7 separate regions of the Homo sapiens genome follow, and all the other regions are linked to region 3. The links are contacts of gene promoters, found by promoter capture Hi-C in blood cells and fetal thymus (Javierre and others, 2016). All regions are on one chromosome and are shown on one strand. The core of a region is centred on a gene start or on the middle of the fragment in contact, and the rest is flanking DNA. Distances in the headings are between cores, read along the strand shown.

Region 1 (2,757 bases), core at 79-2,578, 1.1 Mb before region 3:
AGCCGAGATCGCACCATTGCATTCCAGCCTGGGCAACAAGAGCGAAACTCCGTCTCAAAAAAAGAAAAAAAAAATAAATATAATTGCAGTAACAAATTTATATGATATTAATTCTTTACCAAAGTACATTCAGTTTATTGGGAAGATCATGGTAAACATCTTAATTTTGTCAACTCTGCCTGAGGCATTCAGCACATGTATTAAATATTTCTCAAACAACTTAGTGTCATTACCCTAATTTTCTTTTAGGCAATGTTCAAACAACCAGCAACCACAATTCACATAATTTGGCTTTATTCAAAGTATGAGGCACAATTATTGTTCATTTTTAAAAGGGTTAAAAAGATGTACGTTTTGGACTTTGTTTTTAAAACCATAACTAATTTGGTGTATATGATTATGTACTATTTAGAGGCTGCTGGCACTATGATGATTAAGTTAATGTTTTCAGTACTGCTTATAGACCTGAAAGCTGCCCTTCTCAGCTGGTTTGTGGGTACTCAAACATACTAATAATGATGATGGCTAACTTAGGAATGACCATCTTCAAAGCTAGTGATGACTTGATGAGCTCATAAGCAACACTGTTTCCAATGCTGCAGCAACATAGTCAAGAAAACACTTCTAGAATGCTTAATTTCCTGAAAGATTTAAACCAATAGATTAAGACAAAACATTTGTAGTCATTTTTCAGATTGAAAGAGATATCTTTTTGCATCATGTTTTATTAGGTTCTTGTCTTTCATTATTTTGAAGAGCTGCCTAGCAAAGTGTCCAAAAATAGAGCTGGCACTGTTTATAAAATGCCTTAAGGCAGAAGTTAATCAGTCATGTAGACACAGATACAGAACTGATTCAAATGTCAAGTGGTAGTTGGACTTCAGGTGGTGACTTTCTAACTTTTACTGTGATCCACATTAAGAAATACAGTTTCACATTGTGACCTGGTATACATACACAGGAAAAAGTACTTGCTGCTTGTGATATACTCTGATACCTTCTATTGTTTTTTTTTCCTCTTGCTAGTCTTACACATTACATCGATTTTACTATCATCCAATGGTTTCAGAGATATTAGATTCAATGACTTAGGCCCCAAACCTTGAGATTCTTTGTTCCTGATTTTTCTGTCAGTGCCTTCCTATTTCTGTCAGTGCCTCAGTAGTGTTTATAAATAAATGCTTCTTTTTTTTTTTTTTTGAGATGGGAGTTTCACTCTCGTTGCGGAGGCTGGAGTGCAATGGCGCAATCTCAGCTCACTGCAACCTCTGCCTCCCGGGTTCAAGTGATTTTCCTGCCTCAGCCTCCCGAGTAGCTGGGATTACAGGCATGCACCACCACACCTGGCTAATTTTGTATTTTTAGTAGAGACGGGGTTTCTCCATGTTGGTCAGGCTGGTCTCGAACTCCTGACCTCAGGTGATCTGCCCTCCTTGGCCTCCCAAAGTGCTGGGATTACAGGCGTGAGCCACCGCGGCTGGTCAATAAATGTATTTTTTAAAAAGCATGACCTAACGGAGCTCATGAAACACTTATGGGTGTATCTTAGATGCCAGACATGGGTTTTAAATTTATCAACCTGTTTAGTTGTCTTAGCAGCCCTATGCAGTTTCTGTAAATTTTCTTTGATTTTACAGATGGGGCAATAAGGCATGGAGTGGTTAAGTTGCTAATTCAATGTACTTCCTTCTAGTTAGTGTTCTTAAATTAGTAACTGTCAAGGCCAGGATTTGAACCCAGGTAATCCAATTGTACGGGCTATATCCTATATATCCTATGCATAGCCTATGCTCCCCCTTAATTTGGTGCTGGTCCTGCAGGGGTTAAAAAAAATTGGCTCAGCAAGGTGGCTCCCAGCTTACACCAGTAATCCCAGCACTTGGGGAGGCCAAGGCAGGTGGATAGCCCTGAGTTCAGAAGTTCTAGACCTGCCTGGACAATGTGGCAAAACCCCATCTCTACCAAGAATACAAAAAAAAAAAAAAATTAGCCAGGCATGTGGTGGCATACGCCTGTAGTTCCAGCCACTTGGGAAGCTGAGGTGGGAAGATTGCTTGAGCCTGGGAGGCAGAGGTTGCAGTGAGCTAAGATTGCACTGCTGCATTCCAGCCTGGGCAACAGGGTGAGACCCTGTCTCAAAAACAAAAAAAGAAAAAATGTCTAGCAATAGGTTACAGAGTTTCTCAATCTCATACCTACCAGTTAATTCTTTGTTATAAGGGGCTGTCCTGTACATTTTAGGATGTTGAACCTCCTTGGCTTCTGCCCACTAGATGCCAGTAGCACCCCAGTTATGACAATCAAAAATGCCTCTGGACATTTTGTAATGTTCCCAGAGGGACAAAATCAACCCCTTTCTCAGAATTCAGGGAAAACGTGGTACATCTATATAATGAAATACTATGCAGCCATTAATATTATATTTTAGAAGAATATTTAAAACAGGCCTGGCATGGTGGCTCACACCTGTAATCTCAGCACTCTGGTAGGCTGAGGTAGGAGAATCACTTGAGGCCAGGAGTTTGAGACCAGCTTGGACAACATAGCGAAACCCTGTCTCTACAAAAATAAAAGTAAAAATATAGACCAGGCGCGGTGGCTCACGCCTGTAATCCCAGCACTTTGGGAGGCCGAGGCGGGTGGATCACGAGGTCAGGAGATCGAGACCATCCTGGCTAACATGGTGAAACCCTGTCTCTACTAAAAGTACAAAAATAAGTTAGCCGGGCGTGCTCGGGAGGCTGAGGCAGGAGGATG
Region 2 (2,700 bases), core at 124-2,623, 1.1 Mb before region 3:
TGGCTCTCGCCTGTAATCCCAGCTACTCAGGAGGCTGAGGCAGGAGGATCACTCGCACCCGGCAGGTGGAGGTTGCAGTGAGCCGAGAGCATGCCACTGCATTCCAGCTGGTTGGCAGAGTGAGACTCAAAAAAAAAGAAAAGAAGAAGAAAAAAATGTAGATAAAACAAGAAAACAACTTTCTTCATCAATACATGTCTGTCTAAATTTCCATTCTCTAATCTGTAAATGGGGATATTTATCATACCTACCTCATATGGCTGTTGCAGAAAAAAAAAAGAAATCACAGTAAATATTCCCAAAATGTTCTCTAGGGACAGGAAGTAACTCTGTGACATAACACAAAGCACTCAAAAGCATCTGTTGAATAAACAGGGTTTCATAAGCAAATGTACTCTTGGGGTTCTAGTAGCAGTACTCTAAGCAAATGACAAAGCAGAATCCAAATAGTAACTTAGTAACAGAGAGAGATCACATGCAGGTAGCTAATTTTCAGCAGTTTCTTTATCAGCCAATGTGTTCCCAGTATCTTATATTAAAAAAAAAAAAGTAATCAACTTGGTTTAATATATTTTAACATCATATATGAATAAGTACTCCTTGGTTCCACATAAACAGTTACTAAGTATGTGTATCCTCTCTTCCACCTTATTCCCATTAAGCTATCTAATTCAGATCTTCCTACTGCATATCGGGCTCTAACAATTACCTATCTGAGCACCTACTATCTGCAGATTCCATCTCAGATGACACCACCAACTACATAATCTTAGATTCTTTTAATGTTTACTTCTCCCCAAACTAAAAATGCTTCATAACTTCTACTCAAGTATAAATTCCTTAGACTGACACTCCACTATTTCCTTTATTTGGGTCCCTACATGAAGCTCCATACCATTTAGGCTGATCTCCTGAAATGAGGTGCATGAATAAATGGATTTTCATGCCTCTACTCATGTCATTCCACAGCTTCCATTATGTAACCAAGAATTCACAAATATTCTGTCGTAAAGTCTTCCTCAATGTACTGGCTGTCAGTGGTCTTGTTCCTGAAGTACTGACAGCCCATACTTCAAATTCCAACTATTCAAGTAAGTGTTGGTATTCAGAACATAAATAAATGCCCTGCTACACTTTTTTGCCACTTGCCAAATAACTTACATCGCCCAAGCTGTATTGCAAATGGCTAAAAAAAATTTTGGTCATGACATATCATACCTCAATACCTAACATACTACCTAGAGACAGTAAACAGTCAATAAATGTTTGCGGTCAAAACCATGGATAAGGACTACGGCAACCAAAACTGAAATCAGAAAGTTGCTCAGAGAGAATCCACAGGAACACTGTCGCTATTTATTCACAAGACTGTATACTTTATGTTACATACTCCTATATGCTATCAAAATAACATGATCCCATGAAACTGAATTCTCTCCTTTGTATGCCACAATTGTTAAAAAACATTCAGCAAAAAGGGACATCAGTAACCAAGTACATATTTGGTCACCCTGAAATAAAAAATACTTGGAAAGAAATAAGAGATCTGGTTTTTAGTCCTAGCTTCACATCTTTACTCCTGTGATTTCAGGAGTTATCCAATTTCTCTGAATCTCAGTTTCGTCATCTTAAAACATAAAGGGGTACACTAGATTATTCTTCTGATCTTCTATAAATAGTCAAATCATACATTAAACATGAGTCTAACACACTGAACAAATACTAATTTTAAGAAACTTATTGTGTGTTAGTGCCAAAAAGTAATAAAAAGCACATTACCTGCCTTCCAAAAAGTTCAATAATACTAATATGAAGAGAGGTATGCAAAAGTTAGACTGAGAAAGAATGGACAAGAATTCACACAAAGGTGACATTAAAAAAAAAAAAAAAAAAACACAAAAGTATATGTAAAATCAAGTTCCAACTAGAAACTGACAGTTTACCCTCACTGATCACATTACTAAAACTTAAGAGGATAAACTTAATAAACCAATGATTTCTTTTAAGAAAACAATCATTAAAAGGAGCTAATTCTTTTATTAACTTGCAACTTTGGGAATGCTTATTATGTACATGTACCCCTAATTTACGTAAAGTCCATTAAATCCTGTAAGTGGGTTGACTCTCTATGATCTAGAACTAAAGTTATTGCATGTAATTGTTAAGTAAGGTACAAGCACAGAAATCAACTGCTATTCAAGGAATTATAAAGTAACTTTATAAGCCTTATATAAATAAGCCTAGTACATAAGTATTACTTTTCACCAAATAGTCACGATTTCCTAAAATCTGACTTGATGCTCATTTTATATAAAGTCCTTCTTAACTTTTATAAAATGAAACCATATTTAATACTATACAAGTTAACACAAGCCAATTCTAAATTAAAAGTAACAGGTTAGTAACTCAACAACTGACACAAGATTTTCTTAAATTATTTGACCCTCTGCTTAAACAGTCTTTAGTTTCTACCCACTAAGAATTACTATAAACTGCCTACCATATATACTGAGACTTCGTAGGACAGAACAACTGTCAAAACATGTCAAACATACTCATAACTCACACGGTAGTTAACAAGTTAGTAGGAATCATGATGCATTAATAAACATAATGCATGAAACTGAACAGATCCAAATTGATCTTTATACATGCATACCTGCACTTGTGTATCTATACAATAATGGTGGGATTTCAAAT
Region 3 (2,700 bases), core at 181-2,680:
TTTAATCTCCCCAGGCATTCAACTCAAATATTAAATGTCCTAAGTCTGAAAGTATCATTATATTTCAAATATTGTCCACTGCTCCATAAAAGAGTTCTTTAGGCTTTTGCTTTTCTAGAAAAATTTTTTTCATTATTGGCACTAACACTGCAGTAAGATTTTTAAAGCAATCACCTAATATACTGAAATCAGAAATCATGATTAAATAGAATAGGTATAAATATGGGAAAAATTGTAAATTTATACAATTGTGGTTAACTTTTCTCATAGAGAAACAATAAGAATATGAATAGTACGGATAAGGCTAGTTTTATAAACATTTACTAAGCATCATTTTGAAGTGGCACATTAAAAATTCTAAGTCCTTTCGAAAATTACTCAAATTAAAATACACAAAGTGGGAACATAATTTCTTAGAAGACAGTGCTTTCCTTTTCAAACAAAATTCATAGTATTTGCAAAATCAAAATTCGGAGAGAAAGTTTTAGAACAAATACATATTACAATTTAGGTAAGCCAACAATGGCGGTCTGGCTGGACGACAAGAACCTACAATAATGAAATTCTATGTAATTCTCACTCCTAAACTTCCAGATACAAACGACTGATTTTAACACAAAGCAAAATACAGGTTGCCACTTGCAAAACATAAATTCACGGCCATGGCCACAAAGAAGTTAAAATCCTACCCAAAATTATATTCCGGGTTTCCAACGATCTTAATCAATTTGGAACTTAATCTCTGTATCTGAAGATTTGCTGTATAAACAACCCTGGGCAGCGCGAACGACAGGGCCCAGGAAAAAACAGGCTTCAACTGGGCCAGGCTGGAACTCTGCAGCCAAGGAGGCTCAGCCTCAGCGGCCCGTCCTGGCGTAGCTCAAGGTGTCTCTAGACAATTACCTAAGTCCCTGAACTACTCGCACCCCCAGCGATCCAGGGCCGTGGCCCAGTCCTGGAGAAGGTATACTTTTTACCCCTCCCCCTCCACTCTCCTGCCCGCCCCTGACGTTTCTTCCCCCTGCGAGAAAGGCTCCAGAATTTCGCTTAATAAACCTGGTTGAGGCCTGGAAGAAAAGCAATCTGGCAACCGGGGGCCGAAGAACAGGAGAGGACCAAGCGGCGAGACACCAGCACGCACCAGGCAAGCTGGAGAAACTGCAAGAGTCGCCTGACCTGGTCTGCAGCCTGAGACCAAACAACGCGAGGGCGGCCTTACCTCGCGAATCCTCGGGACCCCACAACGCACCCAAAGCCGGCAGGGAGGGTGGTCCGGGGCGCCGGGGACACAGCCGGGCTGGGGCGCCGCGTCAGAGCCAAGTAGGCGTCTCCTGTCAGGTCCAGAGGTCTGAGCAGTGGAGGGAGACTCCGGGAGCCGAAAGTGAAGCGGGTCCCGCACCAAGGAGACGTTGAGGGCCGCACAGGTAGAAGGAAGCCAGGGCGGCCGCAGTAGAATGACAGAGGCGCCGGTCACGTGATCGGAGGCACGTGACTGCTGCGGAAGGCGGAAGCCGGGAGACTCCAAAGCAGCAAGAGGAGGGGCGGGCGCTGCGGCGGGGCTTGTTCGGTGCGGACAACTGGATTCCCGAGTCCGTAACTTGGGCCCCGGAGCGACGCAAGGGTCGGGCCCCAGCCAGCCAGGGCAGGTGGGAGGCGGCGAGCGTGGCGGGCACGCTAAGACCCGCCGCCCCCAGACCTAGTGCCTCGCCTAGGGGAGGCCGAGGACCTCCGCCCGGAAGCAGCTAGCAGAGGCCAAAACGCTCTTATTGTAACCGTCATTCTTTTGAAAAGTTTGATTTCGCGCTTTCAAATTAATTTCCATTTGGATTTAACAGCTCCATGAAGCAGGCGTTCTTATTCTGATTTTAAATAGAAAACTCGGGCTGAGAAGTGGGTCTGAAAAGCTCTCTTAACCTAGGGTTGCACATTTAGCAAATAATAAATTCCATTGCAGTATTTACTTTTATACTAAAAAGTTATTCGTTGTTTATCTAAAATTCACATTTACAGGACGTCTGGTATTTTATCCAACAGTCCCATCTGGAGCCCAAATTTTCCCCTAGTCCAGGCCTCAGCAACTGTCTTTGCCTTAAAGTAAGAATGTACTGCCCTGGAGGTGAAGTATATATGATAGCATGTTTTCCTTAAAAAGCAATGAAAGGGGCCGGGCGCGGTGGCTCACTCCTGTAATCCCAGCACTTTGGGAGGCCGAGGCCAGTGGATCACCTGAGGTCTGGAGTTCGAGACCAGCTGACCAACATGGTGAAACCCCATCTCTACTAAAAATACAAAAAATTAGCTGGGTGTGGTGGCGCATGCCTGTAATCCCAGCTGCTTGGGAGGCTGAGGTAGGAAAATCACTTGAACCCAGGAGGCAGAGGTTGCAGTGAGCCAAGACCGCACCATTGTACTCCAGCCTGGGCAGAAAAAGCAAAACTCCGTCTCAAAAAGAAAAAAAAAAAATTCTTTGAAAGGGATTTATAACCAACCCATTTTTACTCGTAAAATTAAAGTCAGAATAATCAAAATCATGCATTGATTATGAATAAAGATATATAATAACAGTGTCAAAGATTGTACTAGGTCACTCATTCTGTCTTAGCCAGAAGTGAAAGTCTGTTGTTTTGAAAGCAAATCTAAGGGGAAAAACTTTCATAAAAGAGAAAAAGAAACCGATCGTGTACTAAGAAACTCCCAAAA
Region 4 (2,716 bases), core at 184-2,683, 1.1 Mb before region 3:
CTTTTTAGCACATAATTAGATAAGCATGTATGGAAAGTATGTTGTTACAAAGAGTTTACTCTGAAGGACCCATAGTAAGTCCTCTAAACCAGTGCTTAATCTAATTAGTTCTTGTAGCTAATGACAAATTACATAGTTTTATAAATTACCAGTGGTCACTAAAAATTATTACTATCACCAAGTCTGTTTTCTTGATTTTTCTTATAGGTTGATTTTAGTGCATTTGAGCTACAATCATATTTTATTATCTGGAAAATGCCTCGAAGACATCTGTGGATCTACAAACTTCCAGGGCTACTCTCTGCATACAAAGGAGGCATGAACAGGCCTTTCTACTCAGAAGTGGACTAAGGTGAATCCATCAGCTGACATCCGTCATAGTTCTTTGTGTACCAAACACCTCATGTATGTTGAAATTAGCTGATTTCATGATTCAAAATAGACCCCATCTTCAGCCTCAAGGTTGTCCAGTGCATCCCCAGTTCAACCTCAGAAGAACCTTTTCAGAAGCCACCAGCTCATGACACATTCCTTCTGGGGGTCTCTGGTGGGCACAGAATAAGCCCCCCTTCCCCTCAGGGTCTGCCTGTCTGCCCCTTAACCTGTTCTCCTGCTCCTCCATTCCAGGTTCCCTCCACCTAAGGCAAACTGCCCGGGGCAACTGCCCAGCATGGAAAGCTTTGGTCTTCACGGTCTTGACTTTTTACCAGCATCTCTGAAGCCCCAAAGTCACATAAGAATTTATTTGACTGAAAATTATTTAAGAACTTTATGTGTTAATTTTCCTTATAAAGTGAAAGTTGATCACTTTCTTTTCCCATATGTCCTTTGCCCAGACACAACTTATTGTTACTCTGTTTTCAATATCGAAGCAAGAAATGGAATTCATTGTGAGCCTGCCCCAGTGCTATTCAGACTCATTCTATCCAGGGAGCAACTTCACTCCATAATTTGTGTAGATACAGTTACTTACCTACCCACTCTCTAGTACATAACTCCCCATACACACCCACGGACTTCTTCCCCTAGGGAACTAGTCAGTGGTGTGTCTCCCTTTACCAGGCAAGTGCATGAAATCAGTGCATGATGTGCTGGTCAATGTGGTGATCTTTTCCCCTCTTTTAACCTGGGGAAGAGAGTTTATGGCAGAAACCACAGCTTTAATCCACACATCTTTGTGTACCAACCTCAGTGTTCTACAAGGCAGAGAAGAGAATGGGTCCAGCGATTCCTCCTGAGCAGTTGTCACGGAAATCTCTTGCTCTCCTTTGGGAAGATGAGTTTTACTCTCAATGATGCATTGATACTCACCATTATTACAAGGACTAGTGAACAAGAACTTGTTATGTGCCAGCACTGTGCTATGCTTCACTCAAGCCAGTTAATTCCTGCACTCTCCTGCATTACTGAATGATTTTTCTTTTCTTCTGAATGGTAGTTTTTAAATGTAGGACTACTGTTTCTTCATCATTTGAGTTTGGGAATTAGGCCTCAAATGAGGCAGCTTATGAAATCTGCTTTGGAGGTCAGGGGTCTTCTCCATAGTGGAAAACATCTACCTGACCCTTTTTAGGCCCCAAACTCCTCTCCAGGGTGTAGTGAATGCATGGCACTGGCATCCCTCCTGTAAATGGAGGGGCTTAGATCTCTGGAGGAAACTTCTGGGCTAGTATGTGGCTACCACGAGAATGGCTACAAGTGGGAATAAAAGGGCTTTGATCACCTTAGTCTTGAGTTCCAGGCAGTTTTTCTGGGCCATGTCACTGATCAAGCATGGTGACATCAAAGTAAGGTATTTTCCTTTTTTTTTTTTTGAAATAGTGTCTCACTCTGTCGCCCAGGCTGGAGTGCAGTGGTGCAATCATGGATCACTGCAGCGTCCGCCTCCTGGGCTCAAGAGATCCTCCCACCTCAGCCTCCAGAGGAGCTGGGACTGCAGGTGCACACCATTACACCTGGCTAATTTTTGTATTTTTTACAGAGATGGGGTTTCACCATGTTACCCAGGCTGGTCTCAAACTCCTGGCCTCAAGTGATCCACTCGCCTTGGCCTCTGAAAGTGCTAGGATTACAGGGGTGAGCCACTAAGCCCAGCCTGGTATCTTCTTTTGTACTTTTCAGAAGAACTCAAAATGGATGAGTTTGCATAAAACTGCATCTGCTGCTCTAGTGCCAGTGAATAGGCCATGAAGCTTCTGGCTCAGATGGGACTTTAGATCTATGACCTGCTGGGTATTCAGAAAGCAGCCACAGATAGCATAGGAGTTCAAGACAACAATGGTGCGTGAACCACCATGGGTCAAGAGGAGCCGTTGATCTGATCTGATCTCCGCTGTCCCCCCATGGCTTTCGTGCAGACATAGCTGGCAGCCTGATGGCGGTGCTGTGGAAGCAGGCCCTTCACTGGGGTACTGGCAGACTGGTTGAAGAGTCTACCTACAGGGGAGTGTCGAGTCCGGCTCTCCCTATGGGCAACAGGCAAGCCACACAGAGGACCAACTCTTGAACAAACGTTGGTAACATTTGTGGTACTGAGGGTTGAAAGCTAGGGGGATTCTTAAAACTATTAGGAGATTCTCTCTTGCTAGTGAAACAGATGGGAAGCAGAGGAACTACTGCACTTTGGACATTGACTTCAGTTTTAATCACAGACTGTTAAGGCTAGGACATATTTTTCTTTAACTTTTAGACTCGGGGTGCATGCGCAGGTTTGTTA
Region 5 (2,700 bases), core at 127-2,626, 1.2 Mb before region 3:
ATTGTTAATGAACAAATTTAGGTGAAAAGAAATATCTTTACAGGTAAAATATGAAAGTTTACTTTCTGGAAGTACAATGATATGAATGTAAAGAGCACTGGCCTTGGAGAAAAGAGGTTCTTCTTCTCCCTGGCTATCTGGCCTTGAAGAAATGACTTATCTTCACCTGTTCTTAATTCCATATGTGTATAAGAAAGGGCTAATAGTTTCAGTTGTAAGATAATGAAGTAAAGATGTCTTTGCCTGCTTCTCCTTCATGAAACCAACCAAATACAAAAGGGAAACAAGACACCATCTTGATGAAACCAGGAAACAACTACCACCCCACACATACAATATATGCAGCAAACCTGTGAAGAATATGAAAACTGATCAACTTGGGTCAAATAAAAAGGGCACCCACTGTGAAAGAATAACAAATCTCGGGAACCCAAAATCACTAAGCCAATGGAAAAATCAAGCTGGGAACTATGTCAGGCAAACCTGCCTCCAATTTTATTCCTAAATAAGATAGCTACAAAGATAAGAAAGCTACATACCTCCCTCACAATTTTGCCACAGGGAAATTTCTTGTAGGCTTCAAGATCTTTAACCTAAAACAGTTCTGCTGAATTTCACCTTCACAATGTAAACTGACAGCATATCTTCATATGTGCGGGACAGAAAGTCACACCTCTGCTGACCTGAAACAAAGGCCTATCTGCTTCCTCTGTCTTACTGTTTATTGTTTATGTAAAAATGCAGATGCACTGAGCCAGACTAAATTATGTATTGAGTGAAAGGCTGATCAAGGACTCGAAAGACCCCGCTTCGAGTTATCCTGCCCTTCTGAACCAAACCAATGTACTTCTTACACATAATCATGTCTCATGTCTCCCTAAAATGTATAAAAGCAAACTGTACCCTGACCACCTTGGGCACATGTTACCAGGACCCCCTGAAGCTATGTCTTGGGTGTGTCCTTAACCTTGACAAAATAAATTTTCTAAATTGATTGTGACCTGTCTCACGATAATTTAGGTTCACACCACTATTGCAGACATTTAGCAAAACTTGGGAGAACTGAATCCTCCTTGTGGGAAGCTTGGGTGGACAGCAAGAACCTCTTGGGGCCCTATCTGAAATTAGAGAGTAGCAGAAGAAATAATACCTATTTATGTTACATACTTGCAAAAAGCCAAAGGAAAAAACGTGAGAAAAAGCCCTAGAACTGCTAAATTTTGTCCAAGGAGAAGGACAAAATAAGTCATCTCCATCCCTCTCTTACACATATAGATTCTGCTTCTAACTGGGGATCCCCTGTGATCCAGGGCAGCTTCCTGCTCACCAGGAAGTGCTATCTTATACCCTTTCCTACACTGTCTTATAGAGGAATAATTCTATTCATTCAAACACAAGCAAAAATTTTAACATGAAATCTACACTAAATTACCCTAATTTAGTGTAGAAAAAAAGAATTAAAAGTAAAAAAAACTAAATGCAGAAAAACTTTCTCCAAGAGCAAATGGAAATTATAACCAAATTCTTTTCCTAAGAACTTGGTCTAATTTTGCTTTATAAAAAAGAACTCAACACAGAGATTTAGCTCAGGAAATAAGTTAAAAAGAAACGTATCACTGATTGAAGGCTACACTGGAAGAAGACACGGCTGAAAACAGAGAAGTCTAAATCAAGCTTTAACAACCAAGACAAGTGAAATTAATAGAATTACCATGTAAATGATAGCTAATATATGGAAGAAAAAAGACAGTGTGCACTGAGTCCATTTCAAGATGAAATCTGAAAGAACTATGGACATTTCGGTACAGAAGAGATTGCAGAAGTAGAAGAGAAGACAGATTTAACACTGTCAAAGTATTCTGATTTCTCTACACTACAGTAGTCAAAAGAATGTACTAGGACATTCACAGCAGGTTTAGTCACAATAGTTGAACACTGGAAACAATCTCAATACCTACTAGTAGCAGAACAGATTTAAAAAAAAACTGTGGCATATTCGTACAATAGAATACAATGCAGCAAAGAATACAAACCACGGATACATGCAACAGCATGAATCATTCTCAGGAACATCATGTTGCGTAAAAGAGGCTAGACACAAAAGAACAGAAACTACATTATTCCATTTATTTACATTCAAAAAGAGACCAAGTAATGTTGGTTTAGAAGTCAAGATACTGGTTAGCATTAATGAACAGGGAGGATGAAAACTGATGGGGAGAAAGTCCTAAGTAGGGCTTCTGGGTTGAAACTATTTGTTTTTGTGGGGTTTTGTGTGTGTGTGTGTGTGTGTGTGTGTTTTTTTTTTTTTTTGAGATGAAGTCTCACTCTGTCACACAGGCTGGAGTGCAGTGGTGCGATCTTGGCTCACTGCAACCTCTGCCTCCTGGGTTCAAGCAATTCTCCTACCTCAGCCTCCCGAGCAGCTGGGACTACAGGCACATGCCAGCATGCCCGGCTAATTTTTGCATTTTTTTTTTAAGTAGAGACAGGGTTTCACCATATTAGTCAGGCTGGTCTCAAACTCCTGACCTCATGATCCGCCTGCCTTGGCCTCCCAAAGTGCTGGGATTACAGGCATAAGCTACCACACCTGAAACTATTTTTATCAATGTGTTCATTGTGAAAATTCACTAAGAATGGATGTACAATTATGGTTTGTGCATTTTTCAGTATATCTCAATAAACAAAAATCTATTC
Region 6 (2,700 bases), core at 36-2,535, 1.1 Mb before region 3:
TACAGTTAGATAGAAGAAATAAGTAAGTTACAGTGTTCAATAGAAGAGTAGGGTTACTATAATTAACAACGTGTTGTATATTTCACAATAGCTAGAAGAGAGGTTTAAAATGCTCCCAGCACACAGAAATGATCAATGGTCGAGGTGAAAGATATCCTAAACACTCTGACTTGATCATTACATATTCTATGCATGTAACAAAATGTCACATGGACCCTATAAATATGTATAAATACTATGTATCAATAAAAATAATTTAAATATTTGAACAGCAATACAAAAGAAATATCTTATTTTTACATTTGGAAGTTTAAAACTTTATTTTCTTTCCATATCCCTAGAACTAGTCCTAAGCTCTAGGCAATTCGGACCAATCTAAAAGAAACTATTGTGTGTTAAACATGACTGAATGTTGAGTGATGGTTGAAGAGGCCAGGTGTCAGATTTGTGTTTGGCACAAGCCTCAAAGGAGGTATTTAGCTCACTTTGTATCTTCATAGTACAGAGTTTTGGCTGTTTCCAAGTAGTATATAGTTTTTGGATAAATGGTGTTGAATGTAGGCAGTTGTTTACAATGCTATGTCTACATCATGTGAAATCTCCAGATATCTGTAAGCAAACAGCAATCTAAGGGAAATTTTCTGCTTTTTCCTGGATATTTGACATCATGTAGTCTAAATCTGGCAGTCTCCTAAATACATGTCTTCTTTCAGAATTCTATATTCCATGTTTTTCTCATATTACAACAGCAGCTAAGACATGTCAGTCACTCTCCTTGTTCTTGGAGCTATAGTAGCTCTTGCAAGTGAGGTTGATTTTGATGTATGATAAGATTTCTAGACATTTCAAGGGGATAGTATAATAGCTAACATGATTCAAATTATAGTTTCATCCTATCATGGGAACTATATATTTTTAAATAGAAAAAGTATAAAGAATATTATTCACCATAGTTTGTAAATAAAATCTGTATGGATAGATGTATTGTTTCCCATAAGAGTTATGGTCACATTAGTAAATGGAGTGATTCTAGTTCTATAAAGCTGTAGTGAATTATTGTAATTTTGTGCTGCCTTAGCAAGCATTTTGAATATAAGTTGGACTTCCTCATACAAAAAGCAAGGCTTAGTTGCCCTTAACATAATAATAGTTTCCAGCTCTCCATATCCTCCCATTTCCTCAAGGTTGTTGATGTAGATATCTGCCCTATACAACTGCCTGTAATGTGACAGGTCCCCCACCTTGATTACTTAAGGGTGGATGTCCGCTGCTTACTCGCTGAAGGCCAAGCAGTGAACCAAGGCCAGGGTGTCCAGTTGAGGTTCAGGTGCCCCTGAGAACCCAAACATCCCCGGGCATAGGTAGGAACATTCCAAGGAAAACAGTCTCATCACACATAGGCAGTAGCCAAAGAGCCAGATCATTAGCTTGAAAGTAGCTTGGAGATGGATGGTGACATGGATTTCTAAAAATGTCCTGCTGCCACTCAGGAGTGCACTGTATGTAAGTCCTAATCAATTCATCTACTCGCCAAGCTGGACTTACTCAAATCATTCTTTTTGTCTCTTGGCTCCTTCCCAGTTTGGGAAGGGACATTACAGATTTTTCTCATAACAACTGGTGTCACTAACCTAGGATCTAAGAGACCAAATGATGAATCAGGAAGGAGCATCTGTTGGGGGAATCACAGGGTAGTCAGAGGCATAAATGTGGAGTGGAGTTACCCCACTGCTCAACCTTTGTGGGCCACTGTGTGGGGACAGGGATGCTCAGACAACACCACTGGGGACTGAGTACCTATTACAAAAAACTAAGATGTTAAAATATGATATGGACAGCAAATATGCCATGTGGTAAGGTCGGCTACTGAGAAATTGTTAGAGCAGGAAAGGAAAGAAGGGTAGAATTTCCTGTGGCTTACACATTTAAAAAGATGAAAAAGTTCAAAGCCACAACAGATTTTCTAGGACTCCAGCTGGATGCAGGCCCATCCTTGCACACAGTTTTTAACTGATGGGCAAATTACAGCAAGAAAAAAATTCAAAGCTCAAATGATTAACCTGCAACTATACAGTTAAGTAGAGTCTTCTAGATTTCTCTATTTCTCTCTTTTCTTTTTTGCCTGCTTTGAATCTACCGTTATTAAGCTACTTGTGTTGAGATAAAACTCATTGTTTATGGTTTTGCTAATTCAACGCTACATGGACATTTTATTTTTCTTATTAAATTCAGCCAGTTCCAGCTAAAATGTAAACATTGGAAACTCCTATGAAACTGCAGAAGAAAAGGTAAAAGAGCTTTTAAAAAATCAGACTGCTATGGAAACTGCTTTACTCCAAATTTTTTTTCTTTCCTTGGATTATTTACAGGGGGAAACAAAGTTTAGCCATGTGACAGGTTGTAATTTAGTCAAAAATAATTTGGATCCTGCTATCTTTTTTTTTAGAGATGGAGTCACACTCTGTCGCCCAGGCTGGAGTGCAGTGGCGTCATCTCCACTCACTGCAACCTCCACCCCCTGGGTTCAAGCGATTCTTCTGTCTCAGCCTCCTGAGTAGCTGGGATTACAGGCACCTGCCACCCTATCTGGCTAATTTTTTGTATTTTTAGTAGAGACAGGGTTTCACTCTCTTGGCCAGGCTGGTCTTGAACTCCTGGCCTCGGATCCACCTGCCTCGGCCTCCCAAAGTGCTGGGATTA
Region 7 (2,700 bases), core at 29-2,528, 1.0 Mb before region 3:
TTCCTGTAAGTTCTTTGGTATGAATTAATTAAACGTATTTCTCTTTTTTACCATGTCATAGGTTTAGACTATACCGAAGAACTTGCAGTGAAACATGAAGGTCTACTTTCCTTGTCCAACCCCTCACTGCACACACACTCCTACCTTGCCTGCCTGGGCAACCACATTCACTGCTTAGCACTCAGCATTCTAGCTCTTTCTCTACGCATTTACACACGTCTGTAGATCTCATTATAAAGCCATAAATGATATCCAAGTACAGGTTTGCTTATTTTGCTTGCTTTTTCCATGCAACAGGATGTCTTTGAAACTTTAAATGTCAGTACAAATAAGTCTGCCTTATTCTTTTTACTTTCTTGGAAATGTAAAATGTCAGTACAGATAAGTCTGCCTTACTCCTTTTAGTGGCTAAATGGTATTGCATAGTGTTTATCCTATAATTTATTTAAGTACTTCTACCATGATCAATATGCAGTCATTTTTAAATTGTTTTGCTATTACCAAAATTTCAGAAAGTGGAATTATTAGTTTTATTTTCTAAGGTTTAGTCTAATTTTCATCTGCTTGATAGTTCTTTTTGTATTCAGTATGAGAGTTAGGAGATAAGGCTGTCAGCCATACATTGAGCAGCCCATTTTTATCAAATTTAAACTGATATTTTCTTATATTAAAAAAATTATTATGCCTAATTAATTCTGCTTCTTGACTCATTGTTCTTATTTTTCCTATTGTTATGTCAAGACCACAGTTTTAATTACCAAAAAATGATAAAATGCTTTATCTGCTTGAGCAAGTTAATCTATATTATATTTTTTTCTAAAAGTATTTAGGTAATTTTTATTATTTATTTCCTAAATGGGGTAGAGATAGCTTGTCAAAATATGGAATATTTAAAGGTTATTTTATACTAATAGATTAATTTGGGGGATATTGACCTTTTAGAGTATTAAGTCTCCCACAATAACTATGTCATGTCTCTCCTTTTTTTTCTGTTTTTCTCTGATGCATATTTTTCTTTCCATTTACCTTCGTATCTATACCATCATTTTGATATTATAAATGGGATCTTTTCCTTTTTACTTTTTTTTGGGGGGATGGTACAGAGTCTCACTCTGTTGCCAGGCTGGAGTGGAGTGGCGCAGTCTCAGTTCACTGCAGCCTCCACCTCCTGGGTTCAAGCAATTCTCCTGCCTCAGCCTCCCAAATAGCTGGGATTACAGGAGTGTGCCACCATGCCCAGCTAATTTTTGTATTTTTAGTAGAGACGAGGTTTCACCATGTTGGCCAGGCTGGTCTCAAGCTCCTGGCCTCAAGCAATCCACCTGCCTTGGCCTCCCAAAGTGCTGGGATTACAGGCATGAGTCACCTCTCTTGGCCATTCTTATTAAATTTTATAATTTGTTATTGCTGCTATATCAGAAAGTTATTTTCTTTGCATATTTATCTTGCATCATTAAAAACCAGTCTTGTCTCTAAGAACTTAAAAATTTATGAAAAAATATAAAGTTAATATTCAAATTAGAATATAGGAATAATTAGGGTGTAATTCTGTGACCTATTGTGTAAATTACCTTCAGGGTTCTAAAAGGTTCAAATACACTTATAATGACCATAAGGAGCTTAATGGAGGAGCAACTCAACCTGATCCTTTAGGAAAAGGCAGCTCCCTAAGCAATGGATTACAGTGAACAATGGCATGAAGATGAGATTTAGTATGGTATATGCTTAAAACAGTGATTAGCGTTTCTTGGCAGATCAGAGAGGGAAGCTAAAATCCAGTGAGAATAATGGATAGAAGGGTAGGGTGGCAGTTGTGAAGACTCTTCAAAGTCAAGTGGAGTAGTTTGGAATTAATTCGATAAGTAAGGGAATTCATCCTGGGGTCAGAGAAGTGCCATCCAGACAGTAGAACTGTAGAATTATTTCTGGCACATCGAATGCAGTTGGAACCAGGGTGAACTTGCTAGGAAGCTATTCGAATCATACAATCTGACAGAGAAAAGGGCCTGAAACAAGGATAATGGTAAATAAATGATGCATTTCCAAAAAGGAAAAAATCAGATGAAAAAACTGAATATGAAAGAAGAATAAAATACTTAAAATATTTTTATTTTAGTAGACTAGATTAAGAGTAGTACTGTTGTAGGAGACAGAGGACTAGAGAGACTGATATGGGGAACAGGAGGATTTATTTGGGTGTACACCAGATCAGTGGATTCATATCTGAAAAGCTGAGCATTGAACAAAGACTGAGTGGGGTTTTTATAAGCAAATTTACAGAAGCAGAACAAAAGCAATCAATCATACAGTGACAGATCATGTAATCTATAGCATAACTGTTGCCTTAGCATAACTTGTGGCCTTGCATAGCTAGTGGACTTGCAGTTGCATCAAAATAAAAACAGAAACTGGCTAAATACAGACATTTGTAAAACGCGGTCATAATTATTAGTTCAGAGAAGGAGAGACAGTAAAGGAATTTGTTTTTCTTTTCAACTTTGCTCCAGAGGGGGCTGTCTGGAGAATATTCCTTTGGCCTCAGCTTTTCAGATAGTGTTATCTTATAACTGTCCTTGAAGTGAACTGGCTAAGTAGAGGAAAACTTGTGTTTCTCACTTAACCCTTGCTTTATTCTGTTTCTCTCTTTTAATTTCTGCATCAATATGATTGCCAAAGAGGATGGAAAGCTGTTTTAGTGAG

Evidence for each region. Contacts are between HindIII fragments. The CHiCAGO score rates a contact against its expected background, and 5 or more counts as called.
Region 1: a fragment that was not itself captured here is called in contact with the fragment with the promoter of ATP6V1H in region 3 in 15 of 17 cell types (fetal thymus, naive CD8 T cells, total CD4 T cells and 12 more); the score reaches 26.3 in fetal thymus.
Region 2: a fragment that was not itself captured here is called in contact with the fragment with the promoter of ATP6V1H in region 3 in 8 of 17 cell types (non-activated CD4 T cells, activated CD4 T cells, fetal thymus and 5 more); the score reaches 12.4 in non-activated CD4 T cells.
Region 4: a contact is called between a fragment that was not itself captured here and the fragment with the promoter of ATP6V1H in region 3, in 1 of 17 cell types (naive CD8 T cells). The highest score is 5.0, in naive CD8 T cells.
Region 5: a fragment that was not itself captured here is called in contact with the fragment with the promoter of ATP6V1H in region 3 in 10 of 17 cell types (non-activated CD4 T cells, naive CD8 T cells, naive CD4 T cells and 7 more); the score reaches 12.3 in non-activated CD4 T cells.
Region 6: a contact is called between a fragment that was not itself captured here and the fragment with the promoter of ATP6V1H in region 3, in 6 of 17 cell types (naive CD4 T cells, naive CD8 T cells, activated CD4 T cells and 3 more). The highest score is 6.8, in naive CD4 T cells.
Region 7: a contact is called between a fragment that was not itself captured here and the fragment with the promoter of ATP6V1H in region 3, in 1 of 17 cell types (non-activated CD4 T cells). The highest score is 5.6, in non-activated CD4 T cells.

What each region holds. Positions count from the first base shown.
Region 1 is chr8:52,719,147-52,721,903 of GRCh38, forward strand. No RefSeq gene overlaps it. Among named protein-coding and RNA genes, the nearest start is that of RB1CC1, 6.1 kb to the left of the region's middle. The HindIII fragment of the contact is 4,259 bases long and covers 1-2,757 here.
Region 2 is chr8:52,702,581-52,705,280 of GRCh38, forward strand. The region is part of intron 1 of RB1CC1 (RB1 inducible coiled-coil 1); the gene reads right to left. Among named protein-coding and RNA genes, the nearest start is that of RB1CC1, 11 kb to the right of the region's middle. The HindIII fragment of the contact is 8,152 bases long and covers 1-2,700 here.
Region 3 is chr8:53,841,815-53,844,514 of GRCh38, forward strand. It overlaps ATP6V1H (ATPase H+ transporting V1 subunit H), which reads right to left and starts at 1,431. Exons shown (of 14, transcript NM_015941.4): 1 at 1,220-1,431. RefSeq lists an enhancer at 1,380-1,519 and a silencer at 1,590-1,739. The HindIII fragment of the contact is 7,596 bases long and covers 1-2,700 here.
Region 4 is chr8:52,776,239-52,778,954 of GRCh38, forward strand. LOC105375835 (a long non-coding RNA gene) reads left to right here. Exons shown (of 7, transcript XR_001745898.2): 6 at 208-352; 7 at 628-2,716. Among named protein-coding and RNA genes, the nearest start is that of RB1CC1, 63 kb to the left of the region's middle. The HindIII fragment of the contact is 1,514 bases long and covers 677-2,190 here.
Region 5 is chr8:52,678,697-52,681,396 of GRCh38, forward strand. The region is part of intron 5 of RB1CC1 (RB1 inducible coiled-coil 1); the gene reads right to left. Among named protein-coding and RNA genes, the nearest start is that of RB1CC1, 34 kb to the right of the region's middle. The HindIII fragment of the contact is 591 bases long and covers 1,082-1,672 here.
Region 6 is chr8:52,758,830-52,761,529 of GRCh38, forward strand. All of the region lies in intron 2 of LOC105375835 (a long non-coding RNA gene), which reads left to right. Among named protein-coding and RNA genes, the nearest start is that of RB1CC1, 46 kb to the left of the region's middle. The HindIII fragment of the contact is 4,900 bases long and covers 1-2,700 here.
Region 7 is chr8:52,803,977-52,806,676 of GRCh38, forward strand. No RefSeq gene overlaps it. Among named protein-coding and RNA genes, the nearest start is that of RB1CC1, 91 kb to the left of the region's middle. The HindIII fragment of the contact is 3,510 bases long and covers 1-2,700 here.